Linked DNA regions of Homo sapiens: region 1 is linked to region 2. Evidence: promoter capture Hi-C in 16 types of primary human blood cells and fetal thymus (Javierre and others, 2016). All regions are on one chromosome and are shown on one strand. Each heading gives the region's core, a stretch centred on a gene start or on the middle of the fragment in contact. The rest is flanking DNA. Distances are from core to core; before and after follow the strand shown.

Region 1 (7,689 bases), core at 2,452-4,951, 1.9 Mb before region 2:
AAAATAACAAAATATTTGAGAGATTATAACTTATAAACCACTTTTCCATGCTAGAAAATAACTTGATATACTAAATGAGGCCTGAATATGAATAAAGGTAATTAAATAGGTATTATACTAAGTTTAAGATTCTTATTACATTAATAATTATATTCATTATATTCAAATATCAGATAGAATTAGTTTTCACAATAAAAATCATCAACTATTCTTTCTAATTTTTGACAAGTACATGTGAGTATAAATCTTAAAATATGCTATTTTCATGGTACATTGTATAGGAAAACATATAAAAGCATCCTGAGAATAGTAAAGTATGATCAGTCCTATGACATAAACAAAAGAACAGCAAAACCAACAACATTATTCATAATTTTTCCAAATCTATTTATGATACATTCTGATAATAAAAATAAACTAAAATTAAGACTTTGTTATTTTTGGACAGAATAGAAAAAGCAGCTCTTCTTTCTTATAATTATGAAACTATTAGGAGAGCTAGAAATGTCAGTCTCTACTATTTTTCTGGGACAGAGAAAATTAAGCCCTGAATTAAGCTCCATAATATTCAGTGTTCTGGATGGCTGACTAAAGTGGTCAACTTAAAATCACAAAGTGTGCAATTTGTGGTTGATCCATGTTCTTTGCTTTTCTTTTTCTTCTCCAATTTTTCACTTTCATTTATGACCAAGTTAAACAATATATTAGAGAATAAATGAGAGGATTCAATTAACTAGTCACAGAAACATCAACTAAAAAAATCAACAACAACAAAAATAATGCTGCTTTCCCAAAGCAAAGATTGGCCAAACTACATACTAAGAGGTCTATTTTTTTTCCCTGAGTACAGTTAAAACTATTGGTCTAACTCGGAGATCTGAAACTATTTTTGTAATTTATTTTCTATGCTACATATGAATTTAAGTAATCTGGGCAAAACTGAAACTCCCATAAAGTGCTGCTTCTTCAAGAGTACTAAGTTCAAGGTGCTCAAACTATCATTATAAACAATATATATATGTTCTTTTTTTCTTAAGTTTCCATTAAGATATGTACCTTCCAACTAAGATTAAACAGTTCAAAAATTTTCTTCCATGATGATGATACTATAACAGCAATACAAAAATGTTATCTCTAGTATAAATTACTGTACTCATCTAAATTTCCAGGGCAGAAAAGAGACCACTTCTATGTCAATCTCACAGAAACAGCAGACAAAAAATATTTGTTTATGTATTGTCTATTGCTGCTTTTGTACTATCACAGCAGAGTTGACTAGCTGTGACAGATAACAATACTGCCAATGAAACCTAAACTATTTCCCATCTGGCCCCATACACAAAAGTTTGTGAACTACTGCCATAAACCATTATTATTCCTATTTCTTCATAAAATGCACACAAGAATATTCTGAAAAACTATATATATATAAACAAAATTACCAGCTCACTCAAACCTTAGTTTCAAATGTTTCCATCTCTCTTCATATATCTAGGATTAAAATTCTAAAAGCACCTACAAGACAATGTTTCCTTTCAGTAATCTTCACGTTGCCAATGTTTCCTTTTTTCACTTATCCCTTCCAAAATTCTCTTTTGGCTTTTTACACTTTAAATTTAAATATAAAAAGCCCAAATATTCGGTTTAATTTCCCTCATTATTCAACCTCCTCTTTCCCAACTTTTTCCCTCTGCTATGTTACAACTTCTAGCAAGAATATTATACAACCCAGTAATACAAAAACAACATTCATAATAGAAAAACAACATTCAGCAGTCAGCACCAATCATAGTTCTACCAGATACAAAATGGGAGAAAGGTTCGGCTATTTCTCTTAAGGAAGCAATTCATTCTAAAAACATAAAATCAGCTATGTTGTACAACCAGGCATAGGTCCAAACAGTTAATGGGCCAAAATAACAGAAATATAGAAATTGAGAAAATAAACAAAGGTTTCTATAATTGAATGAATTCCCAAGTCTGTTGAGATAGTCTAGGTAATAAATAATTTTAAATTCCAAACTACAGTGGTCAAAATTGAATCGTAATAATTTTGGAAGCCAACCTCAAAGCGTCAGTATCTTTACTGTACAATCATCATAAAACAAATAAGCAAATTTGACTGGTGCAATAGTATGTATGTTATAGTTTACTTCATTACTTTAATATTCTATCTTAATAGTTAAAGATCTTTTGCCTTTAAAATTTGGAAAACTATTTAGTAATGTGAATATTTTAAACCTATACAAATTGAAATAACTTATTGCTAAACTGTTTTTTTTACATAAGAAGCATTTTATGTTCCATGCAAAATTTAAAAACATTCAATATTACATTTCAAAGTGAATTTCAATACAACCTTTTAAAAATTTCTTCATAACAAATGATAATTTATAAAACAAAATGCAATTTATATGATCAAGAAAAATGTCACAAAGAAAATATTGATTTATTCAGTCTTCAATATATAAAACAAAAAACACGTTGGCCGGGAGCAGTGGCTCATGCCTGTAATCCCTGCACTTTGGGAGGTTGAGACAGGCAGATCATTTGAGGTCAGGAGTTTGAAACCAGCCTGGCCAACATAGTGAAACCCCATAACTACTAAAAATACAAAAATTAGCTGGGTGTGGTGGTGCACACCTATAATCCCAGCTACTTGGGAGGCTGAGGCAGAGGAATTGCTTGAACCCAGGAGGCGGAGGTTGCAGTGAGCTGAGATCGCCCTACTCTGCTCCAGCCTGGGTCACAGAATGATACTCTGTCAAAAAAAAAAAAAAAGAAAAGAAAAGAGAAGAAAAAAATGCCCTCTATGTCTCACTATTAGAAAGCATTTTAAAAATCATACACAACTCTCAATTTACCAGAATTTGGTATAAATCACCAGAGGAAAAGAGAGATTAAAGAAAAGGAGTGGTGTATGTATACTTGCACTCTTCACACACCATCAACAATTTATACTGTTCTTCTTAGCTCCATTTCCTTGGTTCAGCTGCTAATTTGATTAAGGCCCTACTGGTGACTTGCTCTGTTGCATTCCTCCTTCTGAACTGGAATGCTTCCCTTTGTGGACTTCTTGAGCAAATTCATGAATAAAACAGAAGAGTAAGGCCTGGGGAAAGTGTGTGAGGATATAGCCTATGGCTGCTAATGTTGAAGTTTCAAGGCTGCTCTGGTGATGGTGGTGGCATTAACAAAAGAACAGTAAGAAAAAGAGTCATGTAGAAAAAGCTTGTTAATGATGAAATACACTTAGAGATCAACTTGGAAACAGTGTCTCACCAACTAAAGCACATCTTAGTAAAATGAAATATTTCCCTCTGGCAAAGGTATGCTTTCTGAGCTTAAGGATGAGTTTCTAATACGGCAACAAGAACGTGGGTAATATGGGAAGCAAAATTCTATATTCTTTCCCATCTGAGCAAGTAGCTATGGAGTCTGCCTTGGTCTGAATCAAAGAATTTGTTTTTAATGACAACTAAAATACAAAGTTAACATTGACCTATTTTATTTTAAATGACATACACAATTAACATTAAATGCCTTTAAAATGTATTATATTAACACATTTCAATGTTTTATATAGAAACAAATCAAGACAAGGCTAGATTTTGTAAAATAAATGTTGAATCAGTAAATAAATGAAAATGTTAAATAACAAGGATTTTAAGAGTTTATTTATACTACAGATTTGAAGAGATATACAATATCTTTGATGAAGAATGCAATACTCTTCTGATGAAGTATTCATCAGAATTACCAGAGAAACATTTTCATAAGCACACACAGCTGGAACCCAACACTGATAAACAAAAGTGGTGGAAATAGAAATTTAAATGGTTAAAAATTTGCCTAAAAAGTACAGGTCTGGTTAAAATGTGTTTATAGCCTAGACCACCACTGAAATGCTAAAGTCATGTATTTATAAAATATAACCACTAGATGGAGGCAAAGTACTTACAGTTGGTGATGTAGCAGCAGAGAGCAAAGGTAAAATTCCTCCACAAGCAATGATGATGTTGTCTACCATTTGGGAAATGAGGTGAATTGTGTTATGTACAAAAATAATATTTTCATTGCTATTGACAAAATCCATTACAGACTTTGTAGAATGGCTAAAATACAGAAAACAGAAATGAGTATGTTTTGGCTTACTTAAATGAAAAGCTTAGACAATTAGAATAACAAGTGAAAAATTATAGAACTGTAGGAGCTAGCTATATTTAAAATTAAATTATAAAATAAAGCAATTTATAATTGAGATATCATATTACCAAAAACTAAGCATTCATCTCCACAGGATTTTGTTGTATCCAAGTATATTAACTCATTATATTATTACTTTGCTTGAAAAATACAGTACTAGATTCTAAGACATATGACTGACTCAACAAATTTGGCTAAAAATATTTATTTTGCCAAATCTGATTGTTTTTTGTTGAAAGGCAAAACCTTTTAAATATAAAAAGTATGTCTAATGTTAAAAATAATATGGAAACTCAAAATATAACCAATTCAAAATTTTCATAACCATAAATAAAATTTGAAACCGAAAACCTAAAAATTTAACTGAAAGTTCTATTTTGTAGGCAGTTTCAATTTGTCACATCCCCAATGACTTCAGCCCCACCTTTGACTAGTCACATTGAAATGTATACTGCTAAAGAAGTGACATGATAGGGGAGTATAAATAAATCAGTACAAATTCAAGAACTTATTTAATAAGAAAAGGAAAAAATCTCAAAGTAAGTTGGTAGTACAGTGTTCTCATACAAAACATACAATGTAGATGTCAAAAAAATACCCTGCTTTCGTTTGGTGTCAGTCAAGAATATAATTTTTTTTTTTTTTTTGAGAAAGGATCTCTGCTGTCACCCAGGCTAGAGTGTAGTGGTGGGATCATGGCTTAGTGCATCCTCAACCTCCCTGGGCCCAGGAGATTCCCGAGTAGCTGGGACTACAGGTGGACACCACCACGCCTAGTTAATGTTTGTAAAAACAGGGTCTTGCCCTGGTCTCGAACTCCTGAGCTCCAGCTATCCTCCCGCCTTGGCCTCCCAAAGTGCTGGGATTATAGGTGTGAGCCACCACACCTAGCCTGAACTGTTTTTTAATGGGAAAAAAATAAGATTAAAAAAAAGAAATTACTTCATGGTCAAAATTGAGTCAATAATTCTCACCCTTTTAGAGTTGTGAATTATTATCTATCACTGTGTATCTTAAATTTCAAGATGTTTCTCTCTGTCCTAAAAATAAAGTGTTACCTTTAAAAAATTTAAATTACATTAAATTCTACCTGGGTAATTTCATGAGAGCCCATTAAAGAAAACAAAAACACAGAGTAGGTGGTTGGAAAAAAAGCTGAGTATCACTCACTTGGAGGCTACTGATATTATAATTATCAAATTACATAATTTATCTCCATACATTGGTCTTCATGTTAATAGCAATGTATTTCATGGTATTTAGGTTTCCTCAGTTACCATCTCTAGGTAATTTATCATATAACAATTAGCAATGAAAGTATATGAGTAGTCTAAGAACAAATTGATCAAATAAAATCAAAAGTAAAATCTTTCTATGGCAGACTTTATTGACTTCTTCCACAACAGTCATAACTTTTTCCCTGCTAACACACATTTTATATTTTGTTTTATTATTGAGCTTGACTGGGTATAGGAAAGACTAGCCTAACCCTAGTTACTAGTTAATTAACCAGTATTAGTCTCTAAAAGCCAGTCATTATAATCCCATTTTCTTTTTCTGATGATTGATTTTGAAAGAGGATGTGATCCTGCTGGCTCACGAGATATAAGGGGGAAATTTCTTGACGGGCTTCCTTTAAAAAAAAGAAGAAAAGAGGAGAAGAAAAAGAGAAAGTGAAAGAGGAGAGAGAAGAAGAGGAGGCAGAGGAAAAACAGGAAGAAGAGGAAGGAAGAAGAGTCATCTCTGCCTTTTAATTTGGGCAGGTTTCTTATGAATTGAGGTTGGGAGCTGAAGCAGCCACCTTGAATCCTAAAAGGAAAATGAGGAGAAGCATGGAAGCCAACATTTCTAAGAATGTTGTGCTAGATCATTTAAGTTGCCCTTGCTACTTATATCCATCGACTTCCTAATTGTATTCATGCCTATGTAAATGATGTGCTCTCTTAATTAATTTGTTTCACATTTACTATTAAAAAATTAAATTGAAAATTTAGAAAGGCCATGGTTTACTTTATGTAGATTTGTTGTCTAAGTTATCATCTTTGAACTGATATCCACTAACTGCTTAAATACTACAGGCTCTGAATACACATGTCACAGGGTGATTTTAAACTTAAACAGTATATATTATTATCACTAATAAATTTAGTACATGGTATTAATTTAAACAAGATACAAGAAAAATGTGGAAATTCCTTTAATCAAGGCAGATTTTTGGTTTTGTCAAAACCAAATAGAATAGGCAATGGCATATTTTAAATATTTGCTTTTAATTTATAAAAAAGAAATATTTCTACCTCCTCCAAACATGTACATCAGTTTCTAATGCAAATAGTAAATCAGTGAGAAGCCGCTGGTGCATTGGAGACCATTTAAACTCAGGAATACGAAACATTGTAGTCCGTGGACCTGGGCTAAACTGGCGTCGCTGTTCCTCAGTCATTGGCATTCCTCGAAATCCTAAATCAACTCGGAGATCTCGGTCTTGTTGGGTGATAGACCGACCCTGCACAGCCTAAAGAAGGAAAAGATGAACTTTTGTGGAATACAAAAGAAATGCCTCATTTTAAAATGAAACTGTGAGTATAGTAAAGTGAATAATGCTTTAATGCTTTAGCATATGACTTTAGCAGTTTAATATATTTCACATATATTATTCACCTGGTAATTCCTTGCACAGGAAACTTTTTGGGCTGAAGTCTCCATTATTGCTTTTATTTTACTATTGCAGAAACTAGGCAAGATAATCAAATACCTAAAGTTAACACCAAAGTTCACACTGAAAACCAGACCCCTTTACCCCATTAAGAGTCTTTAAATTAGACCACATTACTTCCTTAATGAAGTGAGCATATACACAGTGAAGTATACTGGATATATGTCATCAACTAATTGTAACTAAAGCACAAGATTAGAAAAAATATTACTTGACAGTTTCAAGTTAACTTTGAAGTCTGTTTCACTTACAGTACTTCAATTCAAAAACACAAATGCATTTGATAAGTTAGAAAACAAACCAGAAAAATGTCTATAAACTCCAAATGAAAAACAGGCAAGCCTAGTGTTCAACAGGCAAGCCTATTGTTCAATAAACAACGCACGATGTTTTCCTTTATTTTACATCTGTATCTAATTCAATATGCTCATCTCCTGCCAATTATCACTACAATGCAACTGCCACAAAAATGGAAATTGGCAGTTAGAGAAAAAATAAAAATACTTTCCCCACACACGATATATTATGAAGGATTCTTACTGGAGTACAAAGACACAAGACAGGCATGGTTTACTCTTCATAGTATAAACCTAATGGAAACACATTCAATGTATTTTCAATGACATTAAAAGGCAAGTGGGGCACCCAGAGGATAACAAAACCCAAGTCATTAACGGTAAATGTATTCTTATTTCTTCAACTCTTAACCATAAGGTATTATTTATCCTAGAAAATAAAGAAACAGTCATAACTCAGAGCTCAACAAT
Region 2 (6,837 bases), core at 2,873-5,372:
TGCTTATTCATTTGAGGGTTGGGGGGGTGGGGAGAGTCTCTAGTCCTCACCTATGGGTTACTCCTAAGAGGGCTTGTGGCTTCTATTGATTGACTAAGGGCTCTGGGATCTGTACTTCTTACTTGAAGACACCAACTCTCAATCACCACGGGATTTTAGCCGCCCCATACCCATATTTCCATGTAGGCATTCCAGTATCGCAGGCAGTTAAATAGGATTAGGATGATTTTCAGGCTCTTCTTCCAAAATGCTCTCCCCTTTCCAATTTCCGGAGTGCCTTTTCGGTGCCGTGTTTTTCCTTCCCTGTCTCTCCTGTGTAATAGTGAAAAGAGTGAAAATAGCATCAGCTTGGAGATGCACAAAGGCTCTGCACTTGCTTGCTTTGTGACTTCTGTGAATCTTAGCCTCCTTTCCATCCAATCAGATACCTCCAGTGATAGCTGTGGAGATTAATGTTAAAAAACCTAAAATGTGAAGCCATGAAGGCTTCAGACCTGGCACATAGTAGGTGCTCAATGCTGTTCCCTTCTCTCCTCTTTCCTTTCCCTTCTCTTTTGCTGTCTTTGGTTCTCAGTAACCATCTGTTTATCTCACTCCTGAAATAGTCTTACTGAAGATCACAATTGATGAGCAGATTAGGAGGGAAGAAAAGTAGGTGAAAACTGAACACAAGTGCCATCTGTTTTCCTCATTTTTAAAGGAATTAGAGAGGAAGAGATATGGTGTCAGTCCTGGAAGATGCTTGTGATTTGGGCACTCTCTCCCTCTTTGATTCCATAGGACTTCATGCACTCACTGGAGAAGAGGACCAGCTCTCTCAGTTGCCTGTAAAGGAAAAGCCAGAGAGAGAACTAGCCACTTCTTGATTCTAATACAACAGACCTGTCTACCCCAGTGGTAATTCTTCTAACACGGGGACTATATGATCACAAAAAAGAATTTATTTAAAAAATACAAGTTTCATAGCAATGGCAATACTTTAGCATAAAACAAGGTACTAATGACATGCTAATGAGAAAATAATGTTACATATTTGCTTTAAATATAGTACCTTGGAAATACAAAATGACAAAAACATGGTGAGCAGGTACATGAATTTATAGATACTACTTGAACTATGAAATAAAACTTTAGCGGCCCTGTATATGCATACAGAAAACCAAATGTTGATATGTGATCCTTCCTAGAGCCCCTTATTAAAATGCTGGCTGATTTTTTGAAAAAATGAGGCTTCATTCTAAGTTGGCTTTTTTTTTTTAATTAGGGAATAAAAATTCCCTTTTTTTAAAAAAAAAAATGTAGGGCCAAGTGTGATTGGTCACGCCTGTAATCCTACCACTTTGGGAAGCTGAGGCAGGAGAAATGCTGGAAGCCAGGAGTTTGCCATCAGCTTAGGAAGCAAAGAGAGACCCCCATCTCTACAACTTTTTTTTTTTTAATTGGCCAGGTGTGATGGTGTGCACCTGGAGTCTCAGCTACTTGGGAGGCTGAGGCAAGAGAATCACTTGAGCCCAGGAGTTGGAGACTACAGTGAACTATGATTGCGCCACTGCAATCCAGCCTGGGAGACAGAGTGAGGCACCATCTTAAAAATAAATAAATAAATTCAATTCTTGCTCTTTATTGCTAAGATTATTTTAATGAAATATTATATGTAGTCATAAATACAAACTTATGATCTTAATGTTTTCAGAACCAGACACCCCAGCACTTTCAACACATTCATGACTATGCAAAAAGGAGACAATGTAAGTTTTATTGTCGTTGTTATTGTTTTATCTAGTAACCTCGCCTTGACACACTGCAATCCTTCTCAGGAAGAATCATTCCACTTGTTTTCATAATAGAATGCAGCCAAGTCAGCAATGAACTGCAAGGTTGGCATTGGAAATGGCCGGTCTATCTTTAAGTGCTCTCCAAAGCTATAAAAAGCTACGTATTTTTTCCTCACCTTTACCTTTTTACCTTTTCCTCACCTTTACTTGGTTTCCCAGAACATGTTCAATGTTCTCAAGTCCCATGCTCCCCTCTTCTTTCTCTCTCCACCCTCCTTCCATTCTCTTCCAGTAAAAAAGTGATAACCACCAAGTGTCTGCCTTGAACAAAAAGTTATGACACAGATGCTCCCAGTGTTGGACCATCAAGCCGAAAGCACGTGCACAAAGCAGCTGATGCAAGCACCTTAATTGGACGGCCACCGGTGCGGACTGAGCTGGGCTCATGAACCTTCCAGGCAGCCAACTTTGCAATATGGTGCTCGACCTTTCTCCATTCGAGCTTCTGCCGAGCAGTTCCTTAGGTCTCAGATCCCTTTCACCTTCCACAGACGATGCTATGGAACAGAAAAACTGCTGCTCAAATCCTAAATAAGAATGGAAAGTGCACAGTATGGCCCCATAGATCTTTCTTTCCCTTCCTGCCATGAAGCCAACCTGAAAACAAAGACATGATGACTCTTGTGTAACCACCCGAAGAGGCTGACAATTACCAACTACGTGAGGTAGTAGGCAATTGTCACATGCTGGGCTGCAGAGATCGTGCTTAACTTGTTTATTCTCATAGCGGGACAGTTATACAAGACGAGCTGCTTCTCAGAATCAGGCTAGCAACAATTCCCTCAGGGAAAGTTGTTAAGGCTTATGGGCCTCGGAGAGCCAGAGTAAGAAGAATCAAAGTCCTAATTTAAATCCTGTTAAACTTTTAATTTGGAAATAATGTAGAAATAATTTCTCATTATTAGACTATAAATTCCCAGCCAGGCTATGTTTCCGTCAGCCAAATGTAGAAGCAACTTGGTCATATACTTTTTGTATCAAAGAACTTTATTCTTTCAGCCCCAGGCTCAGAATTTGATAACATGTTTTCTGTGGACTTTTTCTCTTCACATCAAACAATGTTAAAGAAGAAAAACAGGGAAAATTATAATGACATATACATATATGTCACTCAGTGTGTGTATGTATATATATACACACATATATACACATATATATACACACATATATATATACACGTATATATATACACACACACTCAGATATGGCCAAACTGAATTACTAGCAGTTTGCTTAAACCATATACTCTGGTTCTGGATCTGCACACATGGGTACCTACAGTCTCTTGCAAAGCCCTCCCCAGCCTCTGCCTATCAGAATTCCCCCCATTTTAAAAAGCCTATCCAAATGTCTCTTTCTCTATCTGGCTTGCAATCATCACCCCAGTCAAAAATAATATTGCTCACCTAGCATTGTGTTTGCGTCCTTTTTGAGACATATATATGGCCTCATGTTAGAAGCTTTTGTATAACTTCTCAATGGGTCCTTAGCAGGTTGATGACAGTATCTTTGAAGTACCTTTGCAACTTCTGCAGTGATTCTTGTCTTAAATGATTCAGTGTCTTAAATGTGATAGGCACCTTCTAAGTATTTTACCTCTAGGTGATTAAAAATTGGGGAAGTAGAGAAATCAAAGAGGAAAGGATGCTTAATACGTAACGCGTGTGTACTTTGCCTCTCTGAGTCTTATCTGTAAGAGCCCTCCAATTCCCATCACGTGAGGGTCAGGATCTGTGGTGTATTCACTCCTGGTGTTAAAGCCCTTGAAGTTTATTTTTCACTGGAAAAGTTTTTATTTGAGTTGTTTCTTGATAATGAAGGTGGTGGCTTACGCTCAGCTGTTGATGCTTGTTTGAAGTAGTTTTTTTTTGTTGTGTTGTGTTTTTTAAATTTAAGAGATTTATCAGGTCCATCTTTTACCTGGCTGCTGCTGCCCTGTAGAAAGCGAAGGAGCTTTCTCTAACTTTGACAGGCTGAAAAGTTTCCTGAGCCCTGGACTTGTTTGTCTTCTACTTGTTTTGCCCTTCCCTCTCTCTTTTTCTTTCGACTCCTTTAGTGAGGGCTGCTTTTGGGTGCTTCGTCAGCTCTGAGGCACGTCAAATACGTGTATTTTGCTTTCAGCGTTGTGTGAGGGACCCTGGCGGCTGGAACTGCCTCTGGTCGGGGCTTAGGGCTGACTGCAAACGTTCCCATTTTCCTCTCTTCCTCTCATTGGTTCCCGAGGTCACGTGAGGGCCCCGGGGGTTGGAATTCTGAGTTGTGGCTTTGGCACTCCTCTTTCTTTTTAAAAATCGCTGGGTCTGTTGAGCTGTCCTGGGCTGGGTGCCTTGCTCTTTGACTGAGACTGGAGACAGACGGCAACAGCCACAGGCAGACTGAGGTGGCAATAGGAAATCTGCCGAGATGTTCAGTCAGGTGCCCAGGACCCCAGCCTCAGGCTGCTACTACCTAAATTCCATGACACCTGAGGGCCAGGAGATGTACTTGCGATTTGATCAGACTACAAGACGCTCTCCTTACAGGATGAGCCGGATTCTAGCACGCCATCAGCTAGTGACTAAAATTCAACAAGGTGAGTGGCCGGCAGTGGAAGGCTGTTGCTCATTCTGATTTCTGTTGGCTCTATTTCATGCTAACCCAGTTTTTTTTGTTTGTTTGTTTCCACTTTATAACATATGGATTTCTATGCCACACTACCCGTAACTTTGAAAAATAACTTTAGGCTGCAGTTTTCAGCAAACAGGACAGTCCTTAGCTGCCACATAGCTCAACATAAAGTGCACAAAAAACTTCACGGTGGGACAGTGAATCATAAATTCCCAAACTGACGTGTGTCTACAGAACAGATGAGAACTGTTACTCAGTGTGTATCTTAGGAGCTTTTCTGCAGTTTCCTCACACTCCGTCACATTTAAAATGTGGACACTTGTTTATTTCATTAGGGAGGAGGCGAGGGACTAATGTCCACCCTGCCCAGAGTATTTCGAATATCCTTAGTGAAGAGGAGGAAAGCAAGAATTCTGTTCTAAAGGCCACCAGGCTAAGCACTAGAATCGCATTCTCTTCCTGTTTGTATGTTTATGTCAGCAGTTGCCACAGATGTGTTAATATTGTTTTCCTGGTAGAGAATTAAGGTGTTCGTTCATCTCAAAACAAATCCCGTAACCTGCACACAAAACTCCAGCTTCCTAATGCAAAGAGAAGAGAATATTGATTATAAGCTGCTTGATATTCTTTTTATTCCCAGCCCCTCAAAATACCAGCCTGGAAGTCTGGACATTACTAAAATTTACCAGTCTCAAAAAAAAAAAAAATTTAAAACATGCTCCTTATAGGGTATATCAGTAGAAAGCAGAAAGACGAACATTCCTAAGAAGCCCCTAACACACACGTTTACAGTCAGTTAATGATCACCCTCCTCCTAGACTACAAAAAAGAAATTATTATATTGGTGCTAAATAAGTTAACCAGGAATTTTTAGAGCCGTTCCTAAGAAGCCCCTAACACACGTTGACAGTCAGTTAATGATCACCCTCCTCCTACACAACAAAAAAAGAAATTATTATATTGGTGCTAAATAAGTTAACCAGGAATTTTTAGAGCCATTATAAAAATACAGTTTCCACTTAAATAAATGAGTTTAAGATTATATTGAATATTAAAGAGGAAGTTGGGGTTTGTAATCATGAAAATCTTATTGTAATGTTTCCAGAAAGAACAATATGTATTCTAGCGGGCAGCATTTGATGAGATTGTTTCCTTGGAAATTAGGATTTGTTTGTAAAGGTTCAGGAACTAGTTATGTGTGAAGGATGCTGGTCCTTCCTACATGCTGGTCTGATTTCAGGAAGGATATTATGTCATTGCATAAACTCTGTGTCCAGGTCTTGATTGAATAGAAACAAAAGTAATTATTTCCCTGTGGCTAGATTTAAAAATACTTTAGGCTTAGAATAAAAACCAGCTCCACTTTGGTTTTAGAAATTTCTGACAATGGTGCCTTTCCAAATGCCATCATCTTTATGAACACCGAGGCTTAATGATGCGCTATCATCTACAAGATATAAATGTTCCTCAGCATGCATATCATATGAGAAATATTGCAGAGAACTAGCTGAAATTGCTTTGCAGACCTCCTTAGATGTATTTACAATAATTTATTTTATTTAAATATTATTTATGTTCTTTTTGGAATGAGGGTTATTTTTCCATTCAAGATTTGAAGTTGTGAACACATGCACTATCACTGAACGTGCCCTGTCACACAGACATATGGGCACCCTCAGTTTATGTTTCATTTTTGTCTAATTAGGTAATTTGAGAATTCCCTCTTTTTTATACTGGGCAATGGAGTGTTTGAAGTCAATGAATGCCTAACACTTAAAACTGACAGTTAAGATCACAGGGAAGCAATAAAGATTTCCAACAGTCTTGTGATTCAGAAATCATTATGTGTTAACATCATACAACTCTTTAGTAAGACAATGAGAAAGCAATGTGAAACAATTTTATTGAGTTTATTGTATTAGAAGATTGGTTTACTGTAATTTCAGAGAATGTGGATTAAACAGTTACAGCATACCAAAATCATTGTAGTTAATTTTTTTTATTATGCCCATTTTACAGATGAGAAAACAGAGGCACACAGATTTCAAGCATCTTATCCAAGGTCACCCAGTAGGAACTGATACTTGAATACAGCTTGACAGTCCATGCTCTGCAATACACTAGACTATTTTTTAGTTTTTATAATGAGTGCTAAAGTACTGAACCTATGATTGAGTTTCAGATTATATAATATACTAGAGACTTTTTAGACTTTTCTACTCAGGATACAGCAATACACTATATTATAGGACCAGAATTGGTCACTCATTATGAAATTTCCTGTCAGGTTATATTTCTCTAGTGGAAACAAAGTGCTACATGTTTTATTCTCTTTAACCAGTTACTACCCAATAACACAGGATGTCAAGTTATTTTACTAAAAGCTTTGTTTTCT

The links. Contacts are between HindIII fragments. The CHiCAGO score rates a contact against its expected background, and 5 or more counts as called.
Region 1: a contact is called between a fragment that was not itself captured here and the fragment with the promoter of STARD13 in region 2, in 1 of 17 cell types (M0 macrophages). The highest score is 5.4, in M0 macrophages.

Annotation. Positions count from the first base shown.
Region 1 is chr13:35,160,782-35,168,470 of GRCh38, reverse strand. It overlaps NBEA (neurobeachin), which reads right to left. Exons shown (of 59, transcript NM_001385012.1): 23 at 6,504-6,721; 24 at 3,962-4,115. Among named protein-coding and RNA genes, the nearest start is that of NBEA, 220 kb to the right of the region's middle. The HindIII fragment of the contact is 936 bases long and covers 3,234-4,169 here.
Region 2 is chr13:33,283,040-33,289,876 of GRCh38, reverse strand. It overlaps STARD13 (StAR related lipid transfer domain containing 13), which reads left to right and starts at 4,122. Exons shown (of 14, transcript NM_178006.4): 1 at 4,122-4,407. The coding sequence starts at 4,239. RefSeq lists enhancers at 3,820-3,949, 3,960-4,019. The HindIII fragment of the contact is 3,531 bases long and covers 3,298-6,828 here.